Regions from separate parts of the Homo sapiens genome. Here regions 2 and 3 are each linked to region 1. Evidence: promoter capture Hi-C in 16 types of primary human blood cells and fetal thymus (Javierre and others, 2016). All regions are on one chromosome and are shown on one strand. Each heading gives the region's core, a stretch centred on a gene start or on the middle of the fragment in contact. The rest is flanking DNA. Distances are from core to core; before and after follow the strand shown. Region 1 holds the start of MEGF8 (multiple EGF like domains 8). Region 2 overlaps POU2F2 (POU class 2 homeobox 2). Region 3 has its middle 12 kb from the start of POU2F2-AS2.

What was found. The method cuts DNA at HindIII sites, captures the fragments that hold promoters and counts their contacts. A CHiCAGO score of 5 or more calls a contact.
Region 2: a fragment that was not itself captured here is called in contact with the fragment with the promoter of MEGF8 in region 1 in 17 of 17 cell types (fetal thymus, total CD8 T cells, naive CD8 T cells and 14 more); the score reaches 23.4 in fetal thymus.
Region 3: a contact is called between a fragment that was not itself captured here and the fragment with the promoter of MEGF8 in region 1, in 8 of 17 cell types (neutrophils, naive CD8 T cells, total B cells and 5 more). The highest score is 8.0, in neutrophils.

What each region holds. Positions count from the first base shown.
Region 1 is chr19:42,323,629-42,327,373 of GRCh38, reverse strand. It overlaps MEGF8 (multiple EGF like domains 8), which reads right to left and starts at 1,739. Exons shown (of 42, transcript NM_001271938.2): 1 at 944-1,739. The coding sequence starts at 1,130. TMEM145 (transmembrane protein 145) reads right to left here. Exons shown (of 15, transcript NM_173633.3): 14 at 3,585-3,745; 15 at 2,310-2,637. The coding sequence ends at 2,557. RefSeq lists silencers at 1,074-1,143, 1,154-1,223, 1,444-1,583, 1,624-1,813. The HindIII fragment of the contact is 9,695 bases long and covers 1-3,745 here.
Region 2 is chr19:42,103,987-42,107,731 of GRCh38, reverse strand. The region is part of intron 5 of POU2F2 (POU class 2 homeobox 2); the gene reads left to right. Among named protein-coding and RNA genes, the nearest start is that of POU2F2, 27 kb to the left of the region's middle. The HindIII fragment of the contact is 5,797 bases long and covers 1-3,745 here.
Region 3 is chr19:42,162,606-42,166,350 of GRCh38, reverse strand. It overlaps a transcript of POU2F2 not described here. Among named protein-coding and RNA genes, the nearest start is that of POU2F2-AS2, 12 kb to the right of the region's middle. RefSeq lists a silencer at 917-1,140. The HindIII fragment of the contact is 8,120 bases long and covers 1-3,745 here.

The DNA of each region.
Region 1 (3,745 bases), core at 490-2,989:
AGACCACTCTTGTCTCTCACTATTAATGTGTTTGTCTCCCCAACTAGACTCCAAGACCTAAGTCACCAGGGATTGCTGGAGCTGTCTCAGTCTGGGCTATGTCCAATGGGAAACATAATGTCTGGCACATGAATGACTGAAGAAAAATGCTTTTATTGAAGTACTTCACAAATAACAACAACAATAATCCTAATGCCATTTATTGAACAGTTACTATATGCCACACATCAGGCATGTTAAATACCTGTTTTCATTTCATTCCAACAACTCTATGAGGTGAGTACTGTTGTTATCCCATTTGTGGGGGAAGGAAACAGAACCTCAGAGAAAGAAAACCACCTGCTCAAAGTCACAAAGCTAATAATAAGAAGCCAGGCACAGTGGCTCACACCTACAATCCCAACACTTTGGGAGGCTGAGGTGCGAGGATCGTTTGAGCCCAAGAGTTCAGGACTAGCCTGGGCGACATGGTGAGACTCTGTCTCTACACACTCAGTTACTTGGGAGGCTGAGGTGGGAGGATCACTTGAGCCCAGGAGGTCGAGGCTGCAGTAAGTAAATTGTGTTGGTACCATTGCACTCCAGCCTGGGTGACAGAGTGAGGCCCCCATCTCAAAAAAAAAAAAAAAAAAAAGTAGTAGTAGTAGAACCAAATTCAAAGCCAAATGATTGGACCCAGACCCTGAGTTCTTAACAGTTACTCAGAAGGCCCGGCACTGATGCTCCTGTCTTGTAATTGTAAATCTGGGTGTAGGTGCATCTCCCCCACCAGACTTGGAGGCCTTCCAGGGCAGGGCCCAGGTTGGCTGCAACCCTGGGTGTCAGGCATTTTAGAGCAAAAGGCCTGGACCAGAACCGAGCTCTGGGAATGTGGTGAGTGGATGAATGCACACATGAATGAACTACCAGCGAATTAGTGAGTGACCCACGCGGCCCCACTCACCCTCGATGAGCCACTCGCAGTTGCCATTGACGCTGTAGTTGCCCGCACCATCCGTCACGAAGCCTGGCGCCTCCCGCAGCACCTGCCGCTGCCCCTTGCAGTCCCCCGCCCGGGCCCCAGGGGACAGCGACCCCAGCACGGCCAAGGCCAAAACCAGTGCCATGGCCAGAACCTTGCCCAGGGCCATCGCCGCCTCCTGCACTGACCCTTAGAGCGGGGACAGGCCGTAAAAACCTGGAGAGGACCCTCTACCCGGGGTGAGGCCCTGCAAATGCGACCTCTATAGGCATAACATGACCTTGTAGATCGAAGAGGTCCCGGAGACCCGGCAGTCCCGGCGAAGGGTACGGCCACTGCTGACAGGCTCTGGAAGCCGAGGGCTGAGCCCTATAGAGCGATGGAAGGCCCTGTATATGGAGTCATTATGGACGGGGCCGAACCCTAGGGACCGTAGGAGTCCCCTATAGACACAGGGCTCCATAGGGGGCCGATCCCATGAACAGTGCCCAGCATTACGGACTCAGGCTGCTGCAGGCCAAACGGACCTTATAGACGGGTGGGTCCCCAGGGGGCGAAGGGCTCTACGGCCCGGCAGGAGCCTCCATAGAGGCTGCGGGCCGGGACAGGCTAGGTTCGGATGGTCCAGGAGAGACTCCTCCAGCCGGGGGCGGGGCGCGAGCGGGTGCCGGGGGCGGAGCCCGTCTTCAGGGGTTCGGGCCTGGACCCCACAGACCCAATCCCTTTGCTCACCCACCCTCGCCTCCCTCCGAAGCCGGATGGGCCAGATCAGAGAGACGAGGGGACGCTTGGGCCAGAGCGGCCGCGGGAAGACCCGCTGTGGGAGGGCGAGGGGGCGGGAGCCGAGCAGCCGCTGTGGGAGGGACGGCGAAGAGGAGGCGAGAAGTTACAGAGCGGCCGGTCAGAGCGGCCCTGGGAGGACTGCGGAGCGCCCAACCCCAACCCTCCATAAAGGGAGACTTCCGGGGAAATCCCCGCCCATTTGTTCCCAACCGCATGCGCAGCAGCGTCCTCCTGGAGGGAGAGAAATACACATATGCGCAGTGCTAAGATCGTAACCCAAACTCTGGGTGCCTGTGGTTCAGCAAAGCATGGGCCACTGGAGGGCGCCTCTACCTCTGAGTGAGGAAAGGAAGGCAAAAATAAAGGAGCGGTGCAAGACCCTGCTAGATGTTTGATCATCTTCAATGTTCCCACATTCTGGGGCAACATAAAGATCAGGTTATACAGGCCCCTGCCTCCGGTTCCAAATTCCCATTTCACAGATGGACACACTGAGGTCCCGAGCCTGACATAGTTCTGGCTCAGCCCCGCCGCTGAACACCATCAAGATGCAAAAGAAGCCATGTTATAGATAAAAACGAATCCTTTTTTATTTTGGCAAGAAGGGGTAAAATGTCTTTCTGCCAGGGACCCGAGGGAAGGCCCCCGGAATGGAGATGCGGCAGATGGAGTACGGGTCCGAGGTCACAGATCCGAGGGAGGGTTTCAGGGTCGAGACCAGCATCGCAATATCCATCCCGGGGTCGCAGAGTCCTGGAGAGTCACAGGCAGGGTCCCGGCGGTCACCACGGGTGTTCCGGAGTCCAGCGGGGTCAGAGGTCTCGAAGGGGGCCAGGGGGCCGGAGGTCACGGAACAGCGGGAGCCCAGAATCCGGCGCCGCTCGGGGCAGGGGCTGAGGGAGGGGACGGGGAGAGCGGCTCCCGCGGGACCGTTTGGCACAGAGGGGAGGGGGGCGGGACGCAGCGTACCCAACCTGGGCGCGCGGGGTGGGAAGGGTCGGGAAGGCCGGGGATGGGCGAGCTCTCGGGCCGGGATAAAGCAGGGGTCCGGAGCCCGGCCGGGGCCCGGTCATGGCCCATGGGGCAGGGGCGGGCAGGGGTGCTCAGACCGGGGGTGCAGTGCCCCCGGCCGTGTGCATGCTGAAGTATTCGGTGAAGCCGGTGTGCGGCGCTGCCGTCTGGGGCACGAGCGGCTGGTAGGGCGGCGTCGGGCCGTCCCAGCCCGAGTCGGCCGCCTTGGGGAACCGAGCGGGAAGTGGGGGGGAGGCTGCGCCCGGCTCGGCCATGGTCACCACGCGGCCCCTCGGGGCCACCGCCGCCGCCACCGCTGTCTCCTCCACCTGCTTCCCGGCCTGGGAGGGGGGTCAGGGTCAGAGGCCGTCCGGGACCCTCGGGGGGCAGATGCGGCCCCGAAGGCCCGTCCCCCTCCCCCGGAGAACCCTTCCACCCCAGGTGTGGACGCACGTTGTCAGTCAGGGAAGGACTGGGTGGCGGGGCGCCTGGGCAGCGGGGCCAGGTACTCAAAGGGCGGCGTCGGGGCGCGCGGGGCGAACTCCGGCGGCGGCCGGGGAGCTGGGGGAGAGCCGCGGAAGGCGGGCGGTGGGGGCACGGCGCAGGGAGTCTGCGGGGGTGTGCGCAACAGCGCCAGAACCCAGTCAGGCAGGGTGGGCGCGGGCGCCAGGGGACGGTCGCGGCGCGGTGTTGGGGCGCGGGGAGTGCGAAAGGCAGGAGGAGGGCTCAGGGGTCCGGGCGCTGGGGGCGGCGGCGGGGCCGGGAGCGGGGTCAGGTACTCCAGGGGCGGCGCCAGCAGCTCCTCGGGCGCTGGGGCCGCGGGGCTTACGGAGGTGGCGGGCGGGGGGATGGAGAAGAGCTCCGTGAAGTTGGGCACCGAGTCGCTGATAAACGTCACGTTCCCATAGACGTGCTGCGGGAAGGCCTTGTCAGCGGATTGGCTCCCTCCGGGTCCAGGGACTCCGGCTGAAGCGATCTGCGACGTGCGCA
Region 2 (3,745 bases), core at 534-3,033, 220 kb after region 1:
AGAGTCTGTGCATAGAATTCAGAGTCCATGAACTTGGATGGGAAAAAAATTACATCTCAATTTTTACTATCTTCTGACCAAACCATAGCATGTCCCTCTATCATGAATATAGACAACAGACAACAGTAGTATTAGCGGTACTGAGACTTTGTCACCAAGAGAATGTACGCAGATTTTCAAATTCTCTTATAGTTGTTGCAGATCTCTCAAAACACTGTTTTCACTCATGATTGCTTTGAAATTACAGTAGTCATCAGATCTATTGCTGGATCTTGTTACTTAGTGTGCTAATAAAGAAACCCATAAATGATTTTATGACCACTCAAAATATGTTTGATGCCTATATTTTTTTAAATTTTAATTAATTAATTTTTTTTGAGACGGAGTCTCACTCTGTTGCTCGAGCTGGAGTGCAGTGGTGTGATCTCAGCTCACTGCAACCTCTGCCTCCTGGGTTCAAGTGATTCTCCTTCCTCAGCCTCCCATGTAGCTGCAACTACAGGCGCCCGCCACCACACCTGGCTAATTTTTTTTCTGTATTTTTTTGGTAGAGATGGGGTTCCACCATGTTGGCCAGGCTGGTCTCAAACTCCTGAACTCAAGTGATTCGCCCGCCTTGGCCTTCCAAAATGCTGGGATTACAGGCATGAGCCACCGCACCCAGCCAAATTTTAATTAATTTATTTTATTTTATTTTGTTTTTTGGAGACGGGTGTCTCCCTTTGTTGCCTAGGCTGCAGTGCCATGGTGTGATCATAGCTTACTGCCACCTCAAACTCCTGGGTTCAAGGGATCCTCCCACCTCAGCATCCTGAGTAGCTGGGACCACAGGCATGCACCACCATGCCTGGCTAATTTTCCTTCTCCTCCTTCTCCTTCTCCTTCTCCTCCTGCTCCTCCTCCTCCTCCTTCTCCTCCTCCTCCTCTTCCTCCTCCTCCTCCTCTTCCTCCTTCTCCTCTTCCTCCTTCTTGTTTTTTTCTTTTTGTAGAGACAGGGTCTTGCCATCTTGCCCAGGCTGGTCTCAAACTCCTGGGCTCAAAAGATTCTCACATCTAGCCTCCCAAAGTGCTGGGATTATAGGCATGAGCCACTGTGCCCAGCCAGTTTTTATTTTAGATTCAGGGATACATGTGTAGGTATGTTACAAGGGTTATATTGCATGGATGCTGAGGTTTGGGGTATAATTGTTCCTGTCACCCAGTAGTGAACACAGTACCCAGTAGGAAGTTTTTCAGCCTTTGCCCTTCTCCCTCCCTTTGGAGTCCCTAGTGATGATGACTATAATTATGTGATTGATTTCATTTGAAATTCTATATATCTGGCTGGACATGGTGGCTCACACCTGTGACCCCAGCACTTTGAGAGGACGAGGTGGGTGGATCATCTGAGGTCGGGAGTTTGAGACCAGCCTAGCCAACATGGTGAAACCCCTTCTCTACTAAAAATACAAAAATTAGCTGGGCATGGGCATGGTGGGTGCACCTGTAGCCTCAGCTACTTGGAAGTCTGAGGCAGGATAATTGCTTGAACCCGGGAGGCAGAGGTTGCAGTGAGCCAAGCAAGACTGAGCCACTGTACTCCAGCCAGGGTGACAGAGGGAGACTCCATCTCATCTCAAAAAAGAAAGAAAGAGAGAGAGAGAAGGGAAAGAAAGAAAAGAAAGAAAAAGAAAGAAAGAAGAAAGAAAGAAAGAAAGAAAGAAAGAAAGAAAGAAAGAAAGAAAGAAAGAAAAAAGAAAGATCCTATATATCATATGTTATGTGTTTTTAATTCTGAGAAGAGGGCAATAGGTTTTTTTTTTTTTCAGATGCTGAAGAATTCAGGGCACAAAAACATTTAGACCTCTATTGTTTTAGACCCCTCTCTGCCTGCCTGGGGGCGAATGGATGGTCTGGGGTAGAAGGATGGTGGTTTGGACCAGGACAGTCACTGTGGACAGGAAGAGATGTAGAGGGAACTGGGAAGACTTGCATTGCAGATGGATTGGATGGATGGGGAGAGGAAGGGAAGGTGGGATTAAGGCTGACCCCTAAGTCTCTGGTCTGAGAAACTAGACAGGGATGTGATTAAATGTTTCCCATCTGAACTTCTCACCATGAGACCTTCTGCAAACTGGGATGCACTTTCCCCATTCTTTCCTCTCGCTGGTGATTCAGAACGAAACCCACAGACACCTCTCTAGGCTTCTGGAGGAAAGGGGAATTTTCATTGAGAGTCATGCTAGGGAGGAACAGGAGTTAACAAATACTTTAATCAACAAGCTAAGGGTTATAGGAAATCAGAAAAATGCTGGTAATAAGACTTGATTTCTAGTCTTATTCATTAGATTCAATTCAGTGGGCATTTAATGGGGGCTTACCAGGTTCCGATATGAGTTAGGGATATACGAAGAATAAGATATGCCTCTGGTCTGCTAGAGTCAGTCTGGCAGAGGAAAAGTACACATAAGCAAATGCATTGACTTGGGAGACGTGTAGCACAGGGCAGGTGGGTCTCGTTTTGTGGGGCCAAAAGATTATGCAACTTGGAGTCCCTTTGAAAGAAAAAGACAATGTTTGAAACAAAAATTAGGTATGGGGCCTTGAAAGGGTTCACTGTAAATGGGGGGCCCTGAAGCATAAGTGTTGCCCGCTTCACAGTTGATCCACATCTGGAGGGAGGTGACCATGGAGGTGTTACTGGGCTGGGGGTAGCTGGGAAAGGGAAGGCAGGGTGGACATTGTTTCACAGGATAGAGTGCTAGGACTTCAGAACCCTTAAGCTGGATTCTGAGATGATTAGCAGCAAGAGTTAGAGAGGTCAGGAGCACAGGAGTACCCAGTCCACTGCCATACACGGAATAAGCAGAGGCACCCCCAGGGGGTCAGGGAATAGTGTTCAGCTGTCGAAAAGCAGGGATGTTGATCAGCAGTGACTGTTTGGGTGGGTGGGGGTGAGACACTGGGATATTTATTTACTCAGACCAGGTACATGTTTCAAATCCCAGAGGTATGAATGGATTTACAGCGTGGCCTTCTGGTATGGTTTTCCAGACATCAACTATGCATACCCAAGCAAATATCCAGATATACTCTTTTTTTGTGTGTGACACAAACAGTACCACCTCATACCCTCTGTTCTGCCTCTTGAGCTTTCCACTCAACAGGACATCCTGCAGATTGTTCCATGTCAGGACACAAAGAGACTCCTCATTCTTGCTGGTGACTGCATAGTATTCCACTGTAGAGCTCTGCCCTCATTCATCCAACCCATCCTGTCTTGCTGCATGCTCAGCTACCTTCTACTCTTTTGCCAGAATGCCACTTGCTGCTGGGAATAGCCTTCTAGAGAGGTCATTTTGCACCTCTCTAGAAGGCCATTCCCAGCCTTCTAGAGTGAGAATAGATAAATTTTTAGCAGTAGAATGGCTGAGTTGAAGGCTGTGTGCAGTTGTAATTTTGATAGACATTGCCAAATCACCCTCTCACCAGCATGTACAAGAATGTGTGTTTCCCCACACTCCCCAATGTGGTATTACACACTATTTTTATATTTGGTGATCTGAGAGGTAAAAATGATATCTCAGTGCAATTGCAGTCGTGTTTATCTTATTGCGAGTGAATCTGAGTGTATTTCCATCCAGAGCTGTTCACATTAATTTCACTGGGCACTCTCCAGACCTGTCTGTCAGCCACATTACTACTGGGTTGTCAGTTTTTTACTTATGGATTTGTAATCACTACTTTTTTCTTCTTCTTTAATTAT
Region 3 (3,745 bases), core at 338-2,837, 160 kb after region 1:
GTTCATTTTAAAAAACGGAGGAAAAAAAAAAACTCTGAGCATAGAGTGTCCCCAGAGCATGAGACCTGGTGCCCAGTGCTGTGAATGACAAAAGTGAACATAGTCCATCTGCACAGAGCTTACTATTCCAGTGTGTGCACACACATACCCAAAGTGTCACACCAGTCAGGTGATGGGGAGCTTGTGCTCCTGTGCTCGATCCTTTTCTGCAGAAGGCCCAAGAGATAGTTTGGGGGCCATTGCGGCAGCAACTGTCAGAGATAAGGGGCCATCCCCAGCCATCCTTAATTCCCCTTTACCAACCTAATGGGAGCTCTCATTGTTCATATCTGGATTGCAGGGCCCAGCATGGGATCTGGCCTAGAATTGGCCTCAGGAAATGCTTACTGAATGAATGAATGAATGAACAAAGGAATATATTTAGCTGAGTGTCTTCATTGCATTTGTTCATTTGCTCAGGTTACCAAGACAAACCTTCTCCCTTACCTACCCACCACCTTCACTTACTACTCACAGCATTTATGGCTGCTGATGGTAATAGTATTAATTTCTCCCACTCATTGCCCCTTTTTTGTGTGTAAGGCCTTTTGCTAAGTTCCCTATAAGCACGGTCTTGTTGGCTTCTCACACCAGCAAAATGAGGCAGCTGTTATTATTATCTTCATGCTATGTTTGAGCAAACTGAGGCTCAGAGAGGTGAAGTGACTTGCCCAGGGCCACACAGTGAGGAAGTGGCCGACCCCATGTTTACCCACTGTGCTCTTCTGCCCCACAGAAGTGCACATTATCTCAGGAGTCTGCATGCACACTTGTTCTTGCAGTTGTCCCCCTCCCAGTAGTTGGATGGCACTACTCTGATCCAGGAGCCCAGATCCCCAGCTTCTGGTCCCAGCTGTGTCATGACCAGTTGAGTAGCTCTGGGAAAATCCCTTCCCTCCCTCTGGGTCTTCGTTTTCCCTCCAGCAGTTCCTCCTGTCTGTAAGCCCTCAGCCAGTTTCCTGAAGAGGGGACAGGGGACTGTATTTGGCTTGGTACTACCCCGCCCACTCTATTGAGAGCAGAAGCCAGAGGAGTGAGCTCTTCTCCATTCAGCAGACTTCAAATTCATTCACATTCTTGAGGGCACTGAACTCTGCTGGGTTTGGACATAAGGGAAGACATAAGACAAGCCTGGCTGGGAAAGGGAGAGGGAAGCAGAGAAACAGCACTAGAGGTGCCTCCACTAAGTACCTAGCCACAGTCTGTCAATTACAGACAAATGGTGTGACACATGTTCATTGTAGAAATAACAGAAAACAGAAATTCAATGAGATGAGAAGAAAATGACCATGATAATCTAGTTAAACGAACAACAAAAAGGACATTACCTTTTGCTATCTGTCTTTTTTTTTTTTTTTGAGATAGCCTGTCACCCAGGCTGGAGTGCAGTGGAGAGATCTCAGCTCACTGCAGCCTCTACCTCTGAGGCTTAAGTGATCCTCCCATCTCAGCCTCCCGAGTAGCTGAGACTGTAGGTATGCGCCACCACACCCAGCTAATTTTTGTATTTTTTGTAGAGACAGAGTCTTGCTATGTTGCCCAGGCTGGTCTTGTACTCCTGGGCTCAAGGGATCCGCCCACCTCGGCCTCCCAAAGTGCTGGGATTACAGGTGTGAGCCATTGCACCCTGACTGTCTTAGCTTTTTTTTTTTCTCCAAAGGAGATTATGGCTATGAGTTTACCCAAATAATTTATTAAAATTTAGATACCTGGGACCCAAACTCAGATTTTTTTTTTTTTTGAGACAGAGTCTCGCACTGTCACCTGAGCTGAAGTGCAATGGCATGATCTCGGCTTACTGCAACCTCTGCCTCCCAGGTTCAAGCGATTCTCCTGCCTCAGCCTCCCAAGTAGCTGGGATTACAGGTGTCTGCTGCCACGCCTAGCTAACTATTTTTGTATTTTTAGTAGAGATGGGGTTTCAAACTCCTGACCTCAGGTGATCCGCCTGCCTTGGCCTCCCAAAGTGTTGGGATTACAGGCATGAGCCACTATGCCTGGCCTTTTTTTTTTTTTTTTTGAGACAGAATGTCAGTGTGTCGTCCAGGCTGGAGTGCAGTGGCGCAATCTCAGCTCACTGCAACCTCCACCTCCTGGGTTCAAGAGATTCTCCTGCCTCAGCCTCCTGAGTAGCTGGGATTACAGGCGCACCACCACACCCGGCTAATATTTGTATTTTTAGTAGAGATGGAGTTTCACCATGTTGGCCAGACTGGTCCAAACTCAGAATTCTGATTTCTGTTCCAAATTTATTTATTTTTGGTGGGGGAACCATCTGGATGTGTATTTTGTAAAAACGGGATGATATGCTACATACTTGTTTATAACTTGCCTTTTCTTCTTCCTAACAACAGATTATGAACATGGTTTCGTTGTCAATGATTTTATTTCATGGTATGAGCTGAGAGAAGTGTAAAAAAAAATTTATTTCAAACATGTTTTCAACAACTCTACAGTCCTTCTTTGTATGGCCACTATACTATCATTTATTGTACCAGTCCCCACTCATATGATATCTAGGTTGGTTTTTGATTTCCCCTATTATAATTATCCCCAGTTTACAAATGAAGACATTGAGGCTTGGATGTGAAGCCTCTCACATGTGTGAAAAGCTAAGGCACAGTCAGAGGGGAGCCGGGGACCACTTGGGTGCCAGCAACAGTCCCTGGCCTCCCTCAGGGAGGGACTGAGGGATCCCGAGAGGAGAGAAAAGCCTGGGTAGAGGAAGCCACCAAGACATAAGACATGTGCCGTGTCAGCAGGGGCCCTTGAGGAGGAGACCACCCTCTTCCAGGCCCCAGAGCCAGGCGTGATGCCGGCCTATGTCCTGCCCACTCAGGCTTCCCTCATCCCTTCCGCTGCCCCCCTCCCTGAGCCCACTCACCGCCTGCTCCATCCTTGCCAGCTTATCAATAGGTTAAGTGGTCAGGTCAGTGATATTGACCATTTGATTAGGACCTTGTCAGATCAATCCCTGGCTCATCTCGTGGGCCTCCTCCTCTGCCCACACACTCCCTCCTGTTCTTCTGCTCCAGGGAGCAGGTGGCCACAGAAGCCTCTCTCTCCCAACACAGCACCCCAGAACCGGGAGCCCCATGGCCCTTTGTGGGCCATTCCTGGTTCTCTGTTTAGGTGCCCAGTTCCTGTACCTTCTCCTTGCATCCACCTCTCTTGCTCATAGTCGTTAGATCTTGTTTGCTGTATGTCCCATGCCCCTCGGAGTCCAATCAGATAGAGGTGCCCCCACTTGGCTGTGTGACCTTGAGCAAGTGACTTTACCTGTCTGAGCCTCCATTTTCCACAGCAGTGTCATGGGATGACACTCGCCGAACAAATGTGAGATGCTGAGAGATCACACCTGCAGAGCAATGACCCACCCCTGGTGCATGACCAGCACTCAGGAAATGCCAGTACTGATGTGTCTGTGGGTGCCAGTGTTTCCATCTGTCTATCGGTGGGGTTGTATGTGGGCATTCTGTGTCTGTGGGGGCAAGTGGCGTCATCATTCTTAGGCCTGTCCCAAGCCCTGGCTTGGGGTCATTCCCTGTGCTGGGCAATGCTTCGGACCCCCAAAGGAGCCAGGCCCTGCCTTGCCCTCAAGGAGCTCACAGTCTGCCATGTACATGGCAAACTGACCCCAGGACACAGCAAACCATTATATACACTGGCTGTGAGGAGACTTGAGGGGCCAGGACCAAACCCTGAG